Linked DNA regions of Homo sapiens: regions 1 and 2 are each linked to region 3. The links are contacts of gene promoters, found by promoter capture Hi-C in human tissues and cell types (Jung and others, 2019). All regions are on one chromosome and are shown on one strand. Each heading gives the region's core, a stretch centred on a gene start or on the middle of the fragment in contact. The rest is flanking DNA. Distances are from core to core; before and after follow the strand shown.

What was found. Contacts are between HindIII fragments. The study calls those that stand out against the background at their distance.
Region 1: a contact is called between a fragment that was not itself captured here and the fragment with the promoter of TTR in region 3, in 4 of the 25 tissues and cell types used here (IMR-90 fibroblasts, aorta, lymphoblastoid cells and 1 more).
Region 2: a fragment that was not itself captured here is called in contact with the fragment with the promoter of TTR in region 3 in 4 of the 25 tissues and cell types used here (dorsolateral prefrontal cortex, heart left ventricle, small bowel and 1 more).

Annotation. Positions count from the first base shown.
Region 1 is chr18:31,763,327-31,768,176 of GRCh38, reverse strand. No RefSeq gene overlaps it. Among named protein-coding and RNA genes, the nearest start is that of SLC25A52, 4.9 kb to the right of the region's middle. The HindIII fragment of the contact is 6,923 bases long and covers 1-4,850 here.
Region 2 is chr18:31,791,187-31,795,880 of GRCh38, reverse strand. No RefSeq gene overlaps it. Among named protein-coding and RNA genes, the nearest start is that of SLC25A52, 33 kb to the right of the region's middle. RefSeq lists an enhancer at 3,251-3,310. The HindIII fragment of the contact is 3,101 bases long and covers 361-3,461 here.
Region 3 is chr18:31,588,677-31,593,126 of GRCh38, reverse strand. It overlaps TTR (transthyretin), which reads right to left and starts at 1,250. Exons shown (of 4, transcript NM_000371.4): 1 at 1,156-1,250; 2 at 101-231. The coding sequence starts at 1,224. The HindIII fragment of the contact is 7,126 bases long and covers 1-3,311 here.

The DNA of each region.
Region 1 (4,850 bases), core at 809-3,308, 170 kb before region 3:
CTCAGTCTGAGGAAGTCAGCCAGCAGCCTGCAAGACAACCTAAGCAGCCCCTTGAAGAGGCCCTGTGGGGAAGAACTAAGGCCTTCTGCCAAAAGCCACCTCTGACTTGCTGGCTAAGTCAGAGAAAAAGCATACATCTTTCTTTAACATGTGTATACATGAGCCTTCAGAATGAAGACCCAAAGGTACAGGAGACATTGTCCATTTTTATGCTTAGGTTCAACAAAATGTAGACATCCATATGGGAATATGATTGGACACAAAGGGTTTGATCTAAGGTTAATAGACTGAGTGGGGAAAGCCCACAAGGCCTGCCCGTCTAGATTCTTCTTGGCCTCTCTGAGCAGCATTCCTTCCTCCTGGGTGTGGGGCAGGGCCCTCTCTGGAATGGAGATCTTAAGGACCTACAGTCAAAAAACTTAGGTCAGGTAATTTCCCTAGGACCAGTTTTTACATGGAAAGATGGAGGGAAAGTTAGAGTGATATTTTCAGGCTTTATGGCTGACTTTGACCAAAAGGGGCTCTGGTTTCTATTACCCACCTTGGGGAAGAGGAATTCTAGTTTCTATGGCTAGCCTCGGGAGAGGATGGGACTGAGAGACAGGAGGGGAGGAGAAGAACAAAGAAAAATTTTTGCTTCTGAGGTTGCATCTAAGTCCTTTATTTTGGGGTACTATTTTCTGAGCCCCAGCATAGCAATAGACAGCTAGTATGCTAATCCAGGGCTTTATCTGTATCACTGTGCTGTGCTGCCTTTGGTGTGAATCATAAATGCCCCCAATGCTACTGAGAAATTGATGGATGACAGAGGATAAGGAAGAGTGTCTGAGGGAGAGGATGCTATGCTTCCTCCGCAGCACATGTGGTCTCATCCACCTGCTTCCTTTGTATATCACTGTTTTTCTTGGTTCTTTTGATTTATCTCTCCATTCCTTTCTTTTCTTATTCTGTGTCATTAGCGGACACCATCAGTTACCTCCTCATCTGCCACTCCTGTTTCCTCTTAACAGGACACCAATTTTGTCTGGAGTGCCATATGCCCTGGCTGGTCTCAGCTAATGTGGTAATTCTATTCTCCTTGCCAGTGACTGATCTAGGGGTGGGCATGCAACAGAGAAAATGTAAGAGGAGGTCTTCTAGAAATGTCTTCCTCTCATCTAAAAGAAGAACATGTTACAAAGAGAAATCTATTTTCCTTTCAAGTTTGAACAGTGTCATCAGAGGACATTATACTTGATTTTCTGCAGCTGTCACGTTGCATGGGGGAAGGCCCAAGAAATGGCAGGGATGTGGAGTCAGAGCTCTGACATTGCTAAGACTGTGTGACCTCTGGGGTAGCCCTCCTCTTGACTTCTTGGTGAGTGAGACACCAATATTTTTATTGTTATACCACTTTCGCAGGTATTCTATTACTTGCTGTCAAAAACATTCTAATGGATATATTTTTTCTTCCTTTCCTTGCTTTTTCTTCTCCTGTTAGGAATATCAAGAAGGCTCCAAAGTTGTTGTTGTTTTTTTTCTGATTAAGGGCATTTTGGGATAAAATGACTTTTGACTTGTGGTCAAGAAAAAGTGAAAGTAGGCCGGGCGCGGTGGCTCACGCCTGTAATCCCAGCACTTTGGGAGGCCAAGGTGGGCGGATCACCAGGTCAGGAGATTGAGATCATCCTGGCTAACACAGTGAAACCCCGTCTCTACTAAAAATACAAAAAAAAAAAAAAAAATGCCGGGCATGGTGGTGGGCATCTGTAGTCCCAGCTACTCGGGAGGCTGAGGCAGGAGAATGGCATGAAGCCGGGAGGCAGAGTTTGCAGTGAGCCGAGATCATGCCACTGCACTCCAGCCTGGGTGACAGAGCAAGACTCTGTCTCAAAAAAAAAAAAAAAAATAAGAAAAAACAAAAAGTGAAAGTACATTGTTATCTTGCACAGTAAGAAATACAGAGGCGTGTTATTATAGGTGTTGGATTTCCTATAGTCCTGCTTTACAAAATTGAGGTTAAGTAACTTGCCCAAGGTCACACAGTTGGTCAGTGTGGATTTGAATCCAGGGGTCAAATTCCAGACTCTTTGATGCTAACCTCTATACATTACTGCCTTTTGTCTGAGCTCACTTAGCTTGGATGGGCTGATGCTTTTTCTTTAGATGTGGGCTTGATATTCAGGTATGGGCAATTGATATATTTCATTCCTCTGGCCATATGGACTGGTTCATTGTTGGACATGTGACTCCAGTTAGGTCAATGAGTTTTCACCCTAAGCCTTTTCTGGAACTATATGTAAAGTGAATCTATATCAAATAACATTGCCCAACTAACAGTTTGTACACATGGAGCTGTTTCCAACCATCACTGTACCACAGAAAGAGCCAATCCGCAAAAATATAATCAAAAGAGACAAATGGCTCGTGCTGACGTTATATGACCCTGCATGCAGCCTAGCCCAATCCCTACTGACTTTTCAGTTATGGGAGACAACGCATTCCTTCTTTTTGCTCAAGCCAGTTTGAGTGGCATTTTTGTCACTGAAAGACTTCCTAGGGGCTGAACTGTGTCTCCTTAATTCATATGTTGAAGTCTTAACAGTACCTACTACAGTAGCTCAAAATGCGACTGTATTTCCATAGGATCTTTAAAGAGATAAAGTTAAAACAAGCTCATCAGGGTAGGCCCTAATCCACTATAACTGGTGTCCTTATAAAAGGAGATTAGGACACCGACACACACAGAATGGGAGTTGGCCATGTGAGGATGAAGCAATGAGGTGGCCATCTGCAAGCAAAGGAGTGAGGCCCTGGGAGAAACCCACCCTGCCAACACGGTTGTCTTGGACTTCCAGCCTCCAGAATTGTGAGGAAATCAGTCTCTTTTGTTTAAGCCACCCAGTCTATGGTACTTTGTTATGACAGCCTGAACAAATTAATACAAGACTCTGAACACTTTCTAAATTCGTATCTGGAGGTGAGAGAGTACATGTTGCAGATTGTCAAATAGAGACGTGGCTCAGTCAAGATGGGATAGGGGCAGTGAGGACCTCTCGATTTTGGGCAGGAAGCTGGCAATTTTGTTGTGCAGTAATAGCAAGGCAGTGGTGAAACTATTCTATTTTCTCTTGGTGCTCTGACCATGAGCCTACTGAAGTTGAAAGTTAAAGAGAGATGGTAGAAAAATGTCAGGCTGATGGAATAAGATGAATTTATTTTGTAGCCTTCGGTTAGGTCCTACCAGAAAAACAAGTTTTGTTAGAAATGGGCAATCTGAAAGCAGCAAGGGAAGAAAAGACAGCTTTGCTACAGGAGGCCCTTTCTTCCTACAGCCATCAACTTAGAAACTTAGATGTCCCTGGCTGGGCGTGGTGCCTCAAACCTGTAATCCCAGCACTTTGGGAGGCTGAGGCTGGGGGATTACCTGAGGCCAGGTCAGTGTGGCCAGCATGGTGAAACCCCATCTCTACTAAAAACACAGAAATTAGCCAAGTGTCTTGGCATGTGCCTGTAGTCCCAGCTACTTGGGAGGCTGAGGCAGGAGAATCGCTTGAACCTGGGAGGTGGAGGTTGCAGTGAGCCAAGATGGTGCCACTGCATTCTAGCCTGAGCAACAGAATGAAACTCTGTCTCAAAAAAATTAAATAAATAAAATAATAGAAAGTTAGATTAGACGTCTCTGAGCTTCGCTGAATTGAAAAGTGGGGTTCTCTGTCATCAACTAATATTACTTCTCACAAAGCCTAGGGTGTGGAAAACATATCAGAAGATAAGATAGGAGTCAGAGAGAAGCTTCATTCCTGTTCTTTTAGGCTTCTCCCAAACATCTTGCAGACATTTAGCAGCCTGAGAAGGGTGACAATGGTCTCCATTGTAAAGAGTCACCCATCAGACATAACCAAGGGGCAAGGGCCAAGTTATCTGTGCTTTGAGGGTGCTGGTTCTGCCCTGGGGCAGCCAGCATGGACAACACTAGGTTGAGGACTAGGTGGGATAGCAGAGCATTAGGGCCTGTGCTGAGACAAAAATCCCGCAATAAAGGGTCTGGAATCTAGGACTGTGACCAAACATATTTGACTTGGGCCATCGGTCAGTAGAGTTGCCTAATTTTTTTTTTTTCTCTTTTTTGAGATGGAGTTTCGCTCTTGTTGCCCAGGCTGGAGTGCAATGGTGTGATCTCAGCTCACTGCAACGTCCGCCTCCTGGGTTCAAGTGAATCTCTTGCTTCAGCCTCCCAAGTTGCTGGGATTACAGGTGTGCACCACCATACCCGTCTAATTTTGTATTTTCAGTAGAGACAGGGTTTCACCATGTTGGCCAGGCTGGTCTTGAACTCCTGACCTCAGGTGATCCCCCACCCCAGCCACCTAAAGTGCTGGGATTACAGGTGTGAGCCACCGCGCCTGCCTGAGTTGCCTGATTTCAAACTGTATAGTTACATTGCCCAAGAAACTGCAAGCTTGGACCAAAAAAAGGTGGCAATGGCTCAACTTCCAAAGCAATTTTCCAGCTCCTCTCATCTGCACCAATGGCAGTGGGCTGTGTGGCTTCAGAGGGGAACACCTCCTAATACCTTTCTAGGTCCCAGTGGTTTGGGTGGTGGGCGGGATGGGAGGTTTACCTCCTTCTGCCCCATTTACCTGACAAGTGCAGGATGAGGCAAGTGACTCAGGTTTGATTAGTATCATTTTCCATCCCCCTGATCCCAGTGATTGGTTCAGACCAACTAACTGCAATGAGACTCAATCCTAGGGTTGTTTTGCAGGAACTGTTGGGAAAGTGAAGCACTTCATCCTTCAGTTGCTAAATTAGCAGAATAAGCTTCAGGTAGGATGTTACTCTGTAGAAAGAGCTGACTGAAAATGAAG
Region 2 (4,694 bases), core at 662-3,161, 200 kb before region 3:
GGTTTTTAATTTTTAAAAAATGTTTAAATTTTTATGTATTTATTTAAAGTTTTTAAAAAATACAAGACAGGGTCTTGCCATGTTGCCCAGGCTAGTCTCAAACTCCTAGGCCCGAGCCATCCTTCTTGCTCAGCCTCTCCAAGTGCTCAAATTACAGGTGTGAGCCACCTTGACTGGCCAGAAACCAGCCTTTCTGAAAGACACCACTGCAGATATCAGCCAACAGCCAGATGCTGCCCTTCCCTTTTGCAGTGTTGACACCACAACCAATCAGGCTTCCTTCCTAATGATAGACCACCTACCACAGATTGGTTCTGGCCAGTCCACAGAGGATGCATAGTGAGGGTTTTTGTGTCCTCTACTTTACTTTTTGATGTTAGAGGGCCAAGATCGGATCGTGCCAATGCCGACATTTTTTGGGACCCATGAAGGGGCATGAAGCTCAGCTGCACATGCACGTTTCTCCTCTCATAAATATTCATGACTCCTCCTACAGCTTTTTAAATGTGGGGGGTATTCATATCAGAATTACCTGAAGAACTAAGATATATTTATCTATGGCTAATTGTCCACCCTGCTTGCATAAATTCCTGTTCCCCTTCCCCCTCCCTCAAAGTGTCTGTTTCTGGCTTCTGACTGAAGGCTGTGCTTCCCAGCCTGTCAGAATTGCCACCATACAGGCTGCAAGTCTTGCTGAGAAATTAAGCTCTCCTTTCCAAATTTATGAACCTCCTTATTCTTCAGTTACAGGTTACACAGAGGAGTTTGAGAACTGCCTGACTCATAGAATCACAGATTCTATCCACAGGAAGATTCCTCTAGCTCAATGGGAAGGAACAAAGCTTTGTTCAAAGCTCATCCCTGTGACATAAGAGGACATAGAAATCAGGATTTTTTTTTTATGACTTTGTGTTCTCTCTGGGCATTACCTTCTTTCTGATAGCACATCACATATATCTCACCAGGTGAATCATATGAATTCTGGTTCATACAACCTCATGTTCCAAAAATTTTAAGTGGCTTGGGACTTGGCCGGTAGTGAGGATTTTGAATGGATTAGAAAGTAGTAAAACCTAACAGATGGACGAGGCGTGGTGGCTCACGCCTGTAATCCCAGCATTTTGGGAGGCTGAGGTGGGTGGATCACAAGGACAGGAGATGGAGACCATCCTGGCCAACATGGTGAAATCCCATCTCTACTAAAATACAAAAAATTAGCCAGGCGTGGTGGCACGCACCTGTACTCCTGGCTACTTGGGAGACCGAGGCAGGAGAAATGCTTGAATCCGGGAGCTGGAGGTTGCAGTGAGCCAAGATCATGCCACTGCACTCTAGCCTGGGCAACAGAGTGAGACTCCATCTCAAAAACAAACAAACAAAAAAAACCCCCAAAAATAAAAAATAAAAATTAGCTGGATGTGGTGGTGGGCACCTGTAGTCCCAGCTACCCGGGAGGCTGAGGCAGGAGAATCTCTTGAACCCAGGAGGCGGAGGCTGCAGTGAGCCGAGATCACGCCATTGCACTCCAGCCTGGGAAACAAGTGAAAAGCTGGTCTCAAACAACAAAAACAAAAACAAAAAAACCCCAGATGTAGCAGAAGTGTTCTAAAGCAATTAGCTGAGATATCACAAGCTACAGAAGGAAGGTCATTATGCAAATGCAGGGCCATTAAATGCCAGTCTTTTTAGCCTAATGTCAGAACCTGCCTTATACCCAAAGGATAGGGGGATAGTTGCATGTTTTCTTTCAGCACAATCCACCTCATGCTGTCTGATCTGTCCCCATTAAACCAGGCTAACGGGTTTTTCTTAACAACAAAGACCAGCAGATGGTTTCTGATGTCAATGATGTTCATCTCGTATTCTGGTTTGGTTTGCTTTCACTACCTCCCTTCTCTGCTTTGAAGGTTATTTTTTCCTCAGTTTCAGGGTCAAGGAGACTCATAAAAATATGCAAGGCAAATAATGTTTTTAAAATGTAGCCCATTTTCACCTTTTTTATGTCTCATTGGCTGTAATGTGTGTTTGTAGAGACAAAGTGTATCCATTTTGCTTCACCAGCTAACAATACAAAGAATGATAAATGGCTGTTATTCCTCCTCCTCCTCCTCCTCTTCCTCCTCTTCCTCCTCCTCCTCTTCCTCCTCCTCCACTTCCTCCTCCTCTCTTCCTCCTCTTCCTCCTCCTCTCTTCCTCCTCCTCCTCTTCCTCCTCCTCCTTCTCACAGTCTTCTCTTCTGAGAACCTGGCCCCAGTAGTGTTACCTTGCCTGAGGACTCCTTGCTGAAGGAGGAAAGGAGTAGGTACTGTAATTCTTTGTCTAGTTATTACCCAAATGAAAAATTCCAAGATAAATAGTGCTTGCATCTCAAAGGGTGAAAGGATAGAACAATGGCCTTGTGCTGTTTCTATATACTCTCTGTAACAACCCAGGCATAGGATGGCACCAAATCAGGAGGAATATAAAGGGAAGGTGTTCAAGGCAAGTAGGAAAGTGCAATGGCATGAGGAGGCTTGACAAGAAAGGGCAGACAAAGCTGCGGAGACAAGCTTCTGGTTTGGATCAGCAATCCTAGAGGGGAAATGTCTTTGAATTGGAAGCTGAAGATCTGGGTGCTAGATCAGTTCTATAGTTCTACTAGTACTAAAATCTTGCCTCAGTTTCCCTCAGCAATATAACACCACTATCTTTCCTCAGCATATAAGAGACATATGAAGCCCTTTGTAAACTGTAAAGCAGAATCTAAATAAATATGAAGTCTCAAGAGCCATACACTAGAGATAGCCCAGGTGGGAGCTACCTGTGGAATTAGGAAGCAGCTGTCCTCTGCTCTCTTTTTGCTTTTCCAACCTGCATTCCTTCTTTTCCATAAACCACAGCTTCCCAGAAAAGTACTCTCTGGTGACTGAGTTTCTCAGATTCAGTGTTTCTTCTTCCCAGGCTCTGGGTTTCTTCTTCCTGGGCTCTGATGAATGGCTTCTCATTATCCAATACCCATCTATTACCGTCACATAGACAACATCCTCTGCTCACCTATTCTGTCTCCGATGTGTCCATAGCAGTGATAAAGCTAGTCTCCTTTTGTGTCCAATCAAGCATCAGTTGCCCTTATGTGTTATTCCTGTTTATGGCCTGGGAGAAAGTATAACCTCTAAAGTAACCTTTGAACAGGGTGAATCACATCTGTTATGTTGTAATTTATTGGTTTAACACTCAGGAGTCAATATTGTATCTCCTTAAAATTTATCTGGGCACATTTCACAGTCACATCCATATACTTGGCATCTTTAGAAGGTGGAAGTGTCAAGAAAAGGGAGGTTTTAAGACTGAGGGTAGTGTTGGCTTTTGCTATTGCAGTGTCTGAGCCGTGAAGCCACATCACATGGTGAGTGTGAGGGTTCCTCCCCTGCGGGGAATACCTGTTTCTACTGCCAGTCATCCTGAGGTAGGACGGAGTGGGAGAGGACATCCCCTCGGGTGCAATTGGGTCTGAACTTAATTTGTGGGGATGCCTAGAGGTGCCTGGGGAGTCAGGCCTACTCTTATTATGAGGAGGTCTATTGCAAGCTCTCCAGGAACTCTTGAGGTTATGGTCAGTAGCAGTTATAAGATAGTTTCCACATCATTTTCTGTCTTCCTACTTTACTAAAAATTAATAAAAGCCACTGTCTGGTCTGAACTGTCCTCCGGGGAATTAGTGGCAACAGGGTCCCCACACTGAGGGCAGAGTGGAAGCATTAGAGTGGGCATCATGAGGGACAGCTGTCCCCACCAGGTGGCTATTTTACAAAGATGGTCAGTGTTGAGGGTTAAGAAGCAACAGGGATCTGTGGCATAGTTCCCTTGAGGCAAGACCTAGAGAAACTCCCACAAATAACTGGCAAGGCGCTTTGAAGGAAGTGGACCAGTGGGTGTTAGAGTCATAATAAGTTGAATAAGCAAAGAGGATGTAAACCTATTTTGTGGTCACAGGCCCATGTCACTGGCAGCATTGAGTTACAGCAATGTCTTTCAATACTCTCCACTTCTCTTTCTTTTAAAACCATGCTCACCAAGTGACCTTCAGATAATAATTTAGCTTCCCAAATATTTGCCAACAGGGAGAGAATGCACTGGCATCGACGGAGTGCGCTCCAGTTCTCCTGGAGGCTTTATTTTGCTATGTTAATCAAATTATTCTTCTGGTCTACACAGCAAATTTTTATGAGTTTGGTAAATATGAGTCAGTTCTGGAATGATTATCTATCATGTAAACAAACAAAATTAGATTTTAGTCCTGCAAAGACGAAGGTGAGATCCTGGGCCATGCCCTCTGTGTTAGTCTCCTAGGGCTGCCATTACAAAATACTGCAGACTGGATGGCTTCAAAGAAGCTTATTTTCTCTCAGTGATGAAGGCTGCAAGTCCAAGATCAAAGCTCAGGCCCAGTTAGATTCTCCTGAGGCCTTTCTCCTTGCTTCGCAGGTGGCTGCTTTCGCACTGTGTCCTCACATGGTCTTTCGTCTGTGAGTGTGCACCCCTGGGGCTTCCTCCTCTTACAAGGACACTAGTCGTGGGGGTGAAAGGATAGAACAGTGGTGGTGTGCGGTTTCTATATACTCCTGTAGCAACCCAGGCACAGCACCACGAAGGATGGCACCAAATCAGGAGGAATAGAAAGGGAAGGCTTTATATGCAACTATCCTTTGGGTCTA
Region 3 (4,450 bases), core at 1-2,500:
TGTAAATTCTTTAGCAGATGATGTGAGCCTCTCTCTACCAAGTGAGGGGCAAACGGGAAGATAAAACCAAGTCCTGTGGGAGGGTTCTTTGGCAACTTACCCAGAGGCAAATGGCTCCCAGGTGTCATCAGCAGCCTTTCTGAACACATGCACGGCCACATTGATGGCAGGACTGCCTCGGACAGCATCTAGAACTTTGACCATCAGAGGACACTTGGATTCACCGGTGCCCTGGGTGTAGAGAAGACACGTGAGAAGTTAACAAAATTGATCAGAGTGAAAGGATTTATTCTTTGTGGTATTAGAAATCTGGAGCGAAACAAGAATTACACACTGATCCCATTATCAGGAACGTAAGTGTCGACAATTAATGAGCTTCCCTACTCAGTATAACACAGACGTAATTGTTTCCAAAGCAAGAATGGTTTCTGCCTCCAGACACACTGCTATCAACCAGGGATGTGTATAATGAATTTTAAGGGAGAAAATAGGTCCCCTGAGAACAGTTGCTTTGTTAAAAGTCTCCATTTGAGTGGAATTACTGAAAAGATGTAATGTACCATACATAGGGCCAAACAGGTTTTCCTGAGATCATTTTAGTTGTTGCTATAGTCACTCCCTCTTACCAGTTGTTATAAAATAATGTCAGAACTACATCCAGACCCATTTTATAGTATTAGTTAATTCTTCTAGAGGATTTAAGAATTAGATATCTGACTAGAATATTGTTCACTAAGCCTTTTAAAGATTAATCAATAAATACGTTTTGAATAACTATAGGGCCAGAATATAATCTCCTGCAGTTTGTCCCCCAAATACATTTTATGGAGGGATACTTTTCTGAAAATTCAGTATTAACAGCTTCCTTAATATCATATCTTTATTTCTATCATCTATCTGAGGAAACAGAGGTACCAGATATTACAAACCTAATGCACCAAAGCAATGAGGTAGAATGCTCAGAGTTCAAGTCCCAGCTCAGTAAGCTCAGTGGAACTTCATTCTTTTTGAAGTTTGAATTAATTATATTAAAAATAGATGCTGGGTACCCTTGCCCTAGTAATAAAAGCTGGTTGGCAAAGCTGGAAGGAGTCACTTCTACTTCATTTAGCGTGAATCTTAAATGTAGGAATGGGATGTCACAGAAACACTCACCGTAGGGCCAGCCTCAGACACAAATACCAGTCCAGCAAGGCAGAGGAGGAGCAGACGATGAGAAGCCATCCTGCCAAGAATGAGTGGACTTCTGTGATGGCTGCTCCCAGCCTGGGGCTTTTATACTCACTTCTCCTGAGCTAGGCTGCTTATCCCTGCCAATCTGACTGCAAACCTGCTGATTCTGATTATTGACTTAGTCAACAAAGAGAGAATAAGTAACCCATACAAATATGAACCTTGTCTAGAGAGATTAGAGCATCGGAACATTCGTTCTATGAAATATTCTTAATAGGTCATTTGACCAGTTAGGTCACCAAAACAAAACAACCAAAACAAAACAAAACAATCAAAACAAAACAAAAATAGTCTTCTCCCTGTGTGACTGCGTGCACTAACATTCTTGGGGGTAATTTTTTCCTCCCTCACATATTTCTATGCATGTTTTCCATTTTTATAGATTTTTTGTCTCTCATTTTAGATGCAAGATTTTAGACAGATGCAAGTTGTAATAATGTATTTCATGTTGAATGACATCTAGCTGCACAGGCTTAAATATAGTGCATTAGAAAATGTTTGCACTTGATGGATCCATGGGTCAACAAGGAAAAACCCTTGGCAGTGCTCACATTTTTAAAAGCCTACATTTTAGCCAAACTAAGTCATTTGGAAGCTTTGCTTAGTCAGCAATTTCTCCACAATGTGTGTGTGCATGTGTGTATGTGTGTGTGTGTTCTGCCCAGATAAAGTCCACTTCAATCTAAGAATGGCATCTTCCCTCCCTCCCTTCCTTCCTTCCTTTTTTCCTTCCTTTTTTTTTTTTTTTTTGACAGGGTCTCACTCCAACGCCCTGGCTCGAGTGCAGTGGCACGATCACAGCTCGCTGCAGCCTTGACCTCCCGGGCTCAGGTCATCCTCCCACCTCAGCCTCTTGCCCAGGCTGGTCTCGAACTCCTGAGCTCAAGCAATCCACCCGCTTTGGCCTTCCAAAGTGCTGGGATTACACGTGTGAGCCACTGAGCTGGGCCAGAATGGCATATTTCAACCTGGCATTGATGCCCCTGAAATACAGAGAACCAAATCTTCTTTACTGACTCTTCTGCATTGGGCATGCAGGAACAAGGCTGACAGCTGGTTTTTGACAGAACCAAACTTGCTGGAAGAAAGTAGAGATGACTGTGAGAACCAGAAGCCATGATTGACAGCAGATTCTTTTCCTCCTGGCCGACTTATTAATACAAGTCCAGAAATTATGATGATTTGATGATTCATTACTCACATACAAAGTCTCTGTGTGTATGTGTGTGTGTGTGTGTGTGCGCGCGCACGCGCATGTGTGTGTGTGTCCACTAGCATGCGTGGCTTTGTTCATGGATAAACTAAGGCAGGTTTTTGTCCTTATAAGACAAACATGTAGAAAACATAGAGAAGACAAATATTTTGGACAAATACAAGCCAAGAGCAAGTCCGGTTTGGAGCACTAAGAATTGAGGGAACATTCCCATAACTGATAGAGTCAGATTAGAAAAAATTCAACAAGAAATTGTGAAGCACAGGAGCTTACAGGGAGTAGTGGAAGGGACAGAAAAGCCTTTCAGGAACATGAGAATGTGCAGGAGAGGACTCCGGGAGGTGGGTTGACCCCTCACAGCAATGAGCAAATGTAGTTGAGACCATAACTAGGAATGGAGTCTTAGACCCTTAGAGTTTAACTAGGAAGCAGCAGCAGAAAGACTTTTGCATTTGGAGTTGGATGACCAGAGTCATTCGATCCCAGTTCTGCTGCCCCGTTTCCCGGATGACCTTCTATGAGTTATCTACTATCTCAGATACTCGGCCAACTCGTTTGTAAAATAGAAATGCCTACTTTTCTACTTCAAAGGACTGTTCTAATAACTTTTAATATGAGAGGATGTACAAGCCTTTTGTAAGCTGTAAACCACTATCTTGCTGTAAAAGCATAACTAATAGAATTTGGTTCAACATCTATGCCTCAGGAGAGAATCCTTTCTCAAATAACATCTTTCATATATTGTCATCCAATATCCTCTTGATGATTTCCTATTGTTCAGAACCTGGATAGAGAGCCTTTTCTCTGGCTATGAATCATAAATATTTGGAAGTTCTTTCATAACCGAAGCAAAATCTACTGTGCACGCGTTTCAGCACTGCACCCTGTTGAAACTAAGAATCATCTCTTGTAGACCCTGTGAACTGGCAACGCTGGGCTGCCATCAGCCCATAGATATGTTATATTTGGGCTGCACAGAGTCTCTTTAAACATTTTGTAATAGTTGCCAAAATTAAAAATTGAGACATGCTGCATAAAAATTTGCATTTCTTGCTTCTCTTAAATCAAAAATATTGGCAGCTTTAGGCCAACATTTACACATGACAGTGATCATCAGAATGTCACTCTCAGACATCAAGACTCCCCAGGCCTCCCCGCCAACACTGAGGCTAGGTGATTCTCTAGTGGCATATCATGCGTGAGCTTTTATCTTTTCTTAAACATGGCCTGTTTCTTTCATCTGTGTTTCTGCCCAGCCTTTTGAAAAACTGAGTTTGTGATTGCTGGTCTTCCAACAGCCATGTAAGTAGTATTTTCTTTTTGCCAAATAGACATTCCCACTTCTGTGAATGAATCTTGTTTAGACATAGTTCCTAAGATCCTCAGCATCCCGAACTTCCTTTTCTGGCATATTCCCCTTGGTCAAAGTTCTCTTCAAATGTGATGCTCTGAACAAGACACAGTCCCTGAAGTAGATCAGGCCACAGGATGTCGAGACTGTTGCCTCCCTTGGCAAAGGCACTTTAGTGCAAATGTTGTACCCAGAATCCATCTGTAACTGTAGTAACTGTGACCCTCCCTTCGTCATAACACTACCCACTGTGATCTGTTGGCCACAATAATCTAAAATGACCTATATTATCTGTCATCCTGTGCTTTGATCATTTATGAATTTTAACCCAAATATGGGACCCTGTGTTTGTATCTGATATATCTCATCCTGTTAGTTTCAACCCACCACTTGATCCTTGATATGGTTAGGCTTTGTGTCCCCACCCAAATCTCATCTTGAATTGTAACACCCATAATCCCCATGTGTCAAGGGAGAGACCAGGTGGAGGTAATTGAATCACGAGGGGCGGTTCCCTCATGCTGTTCTTGTGATAGTGATTGAGTTCTCACAGGTTCTGGTAGTTTTACAAGGGGCTTTTCCCCCTTTGCTTGGCACTTCTTCCTGACGCCTTGTGAGGAAGGTGCTTTGCTTCCCCTTCACCTTCTACCATG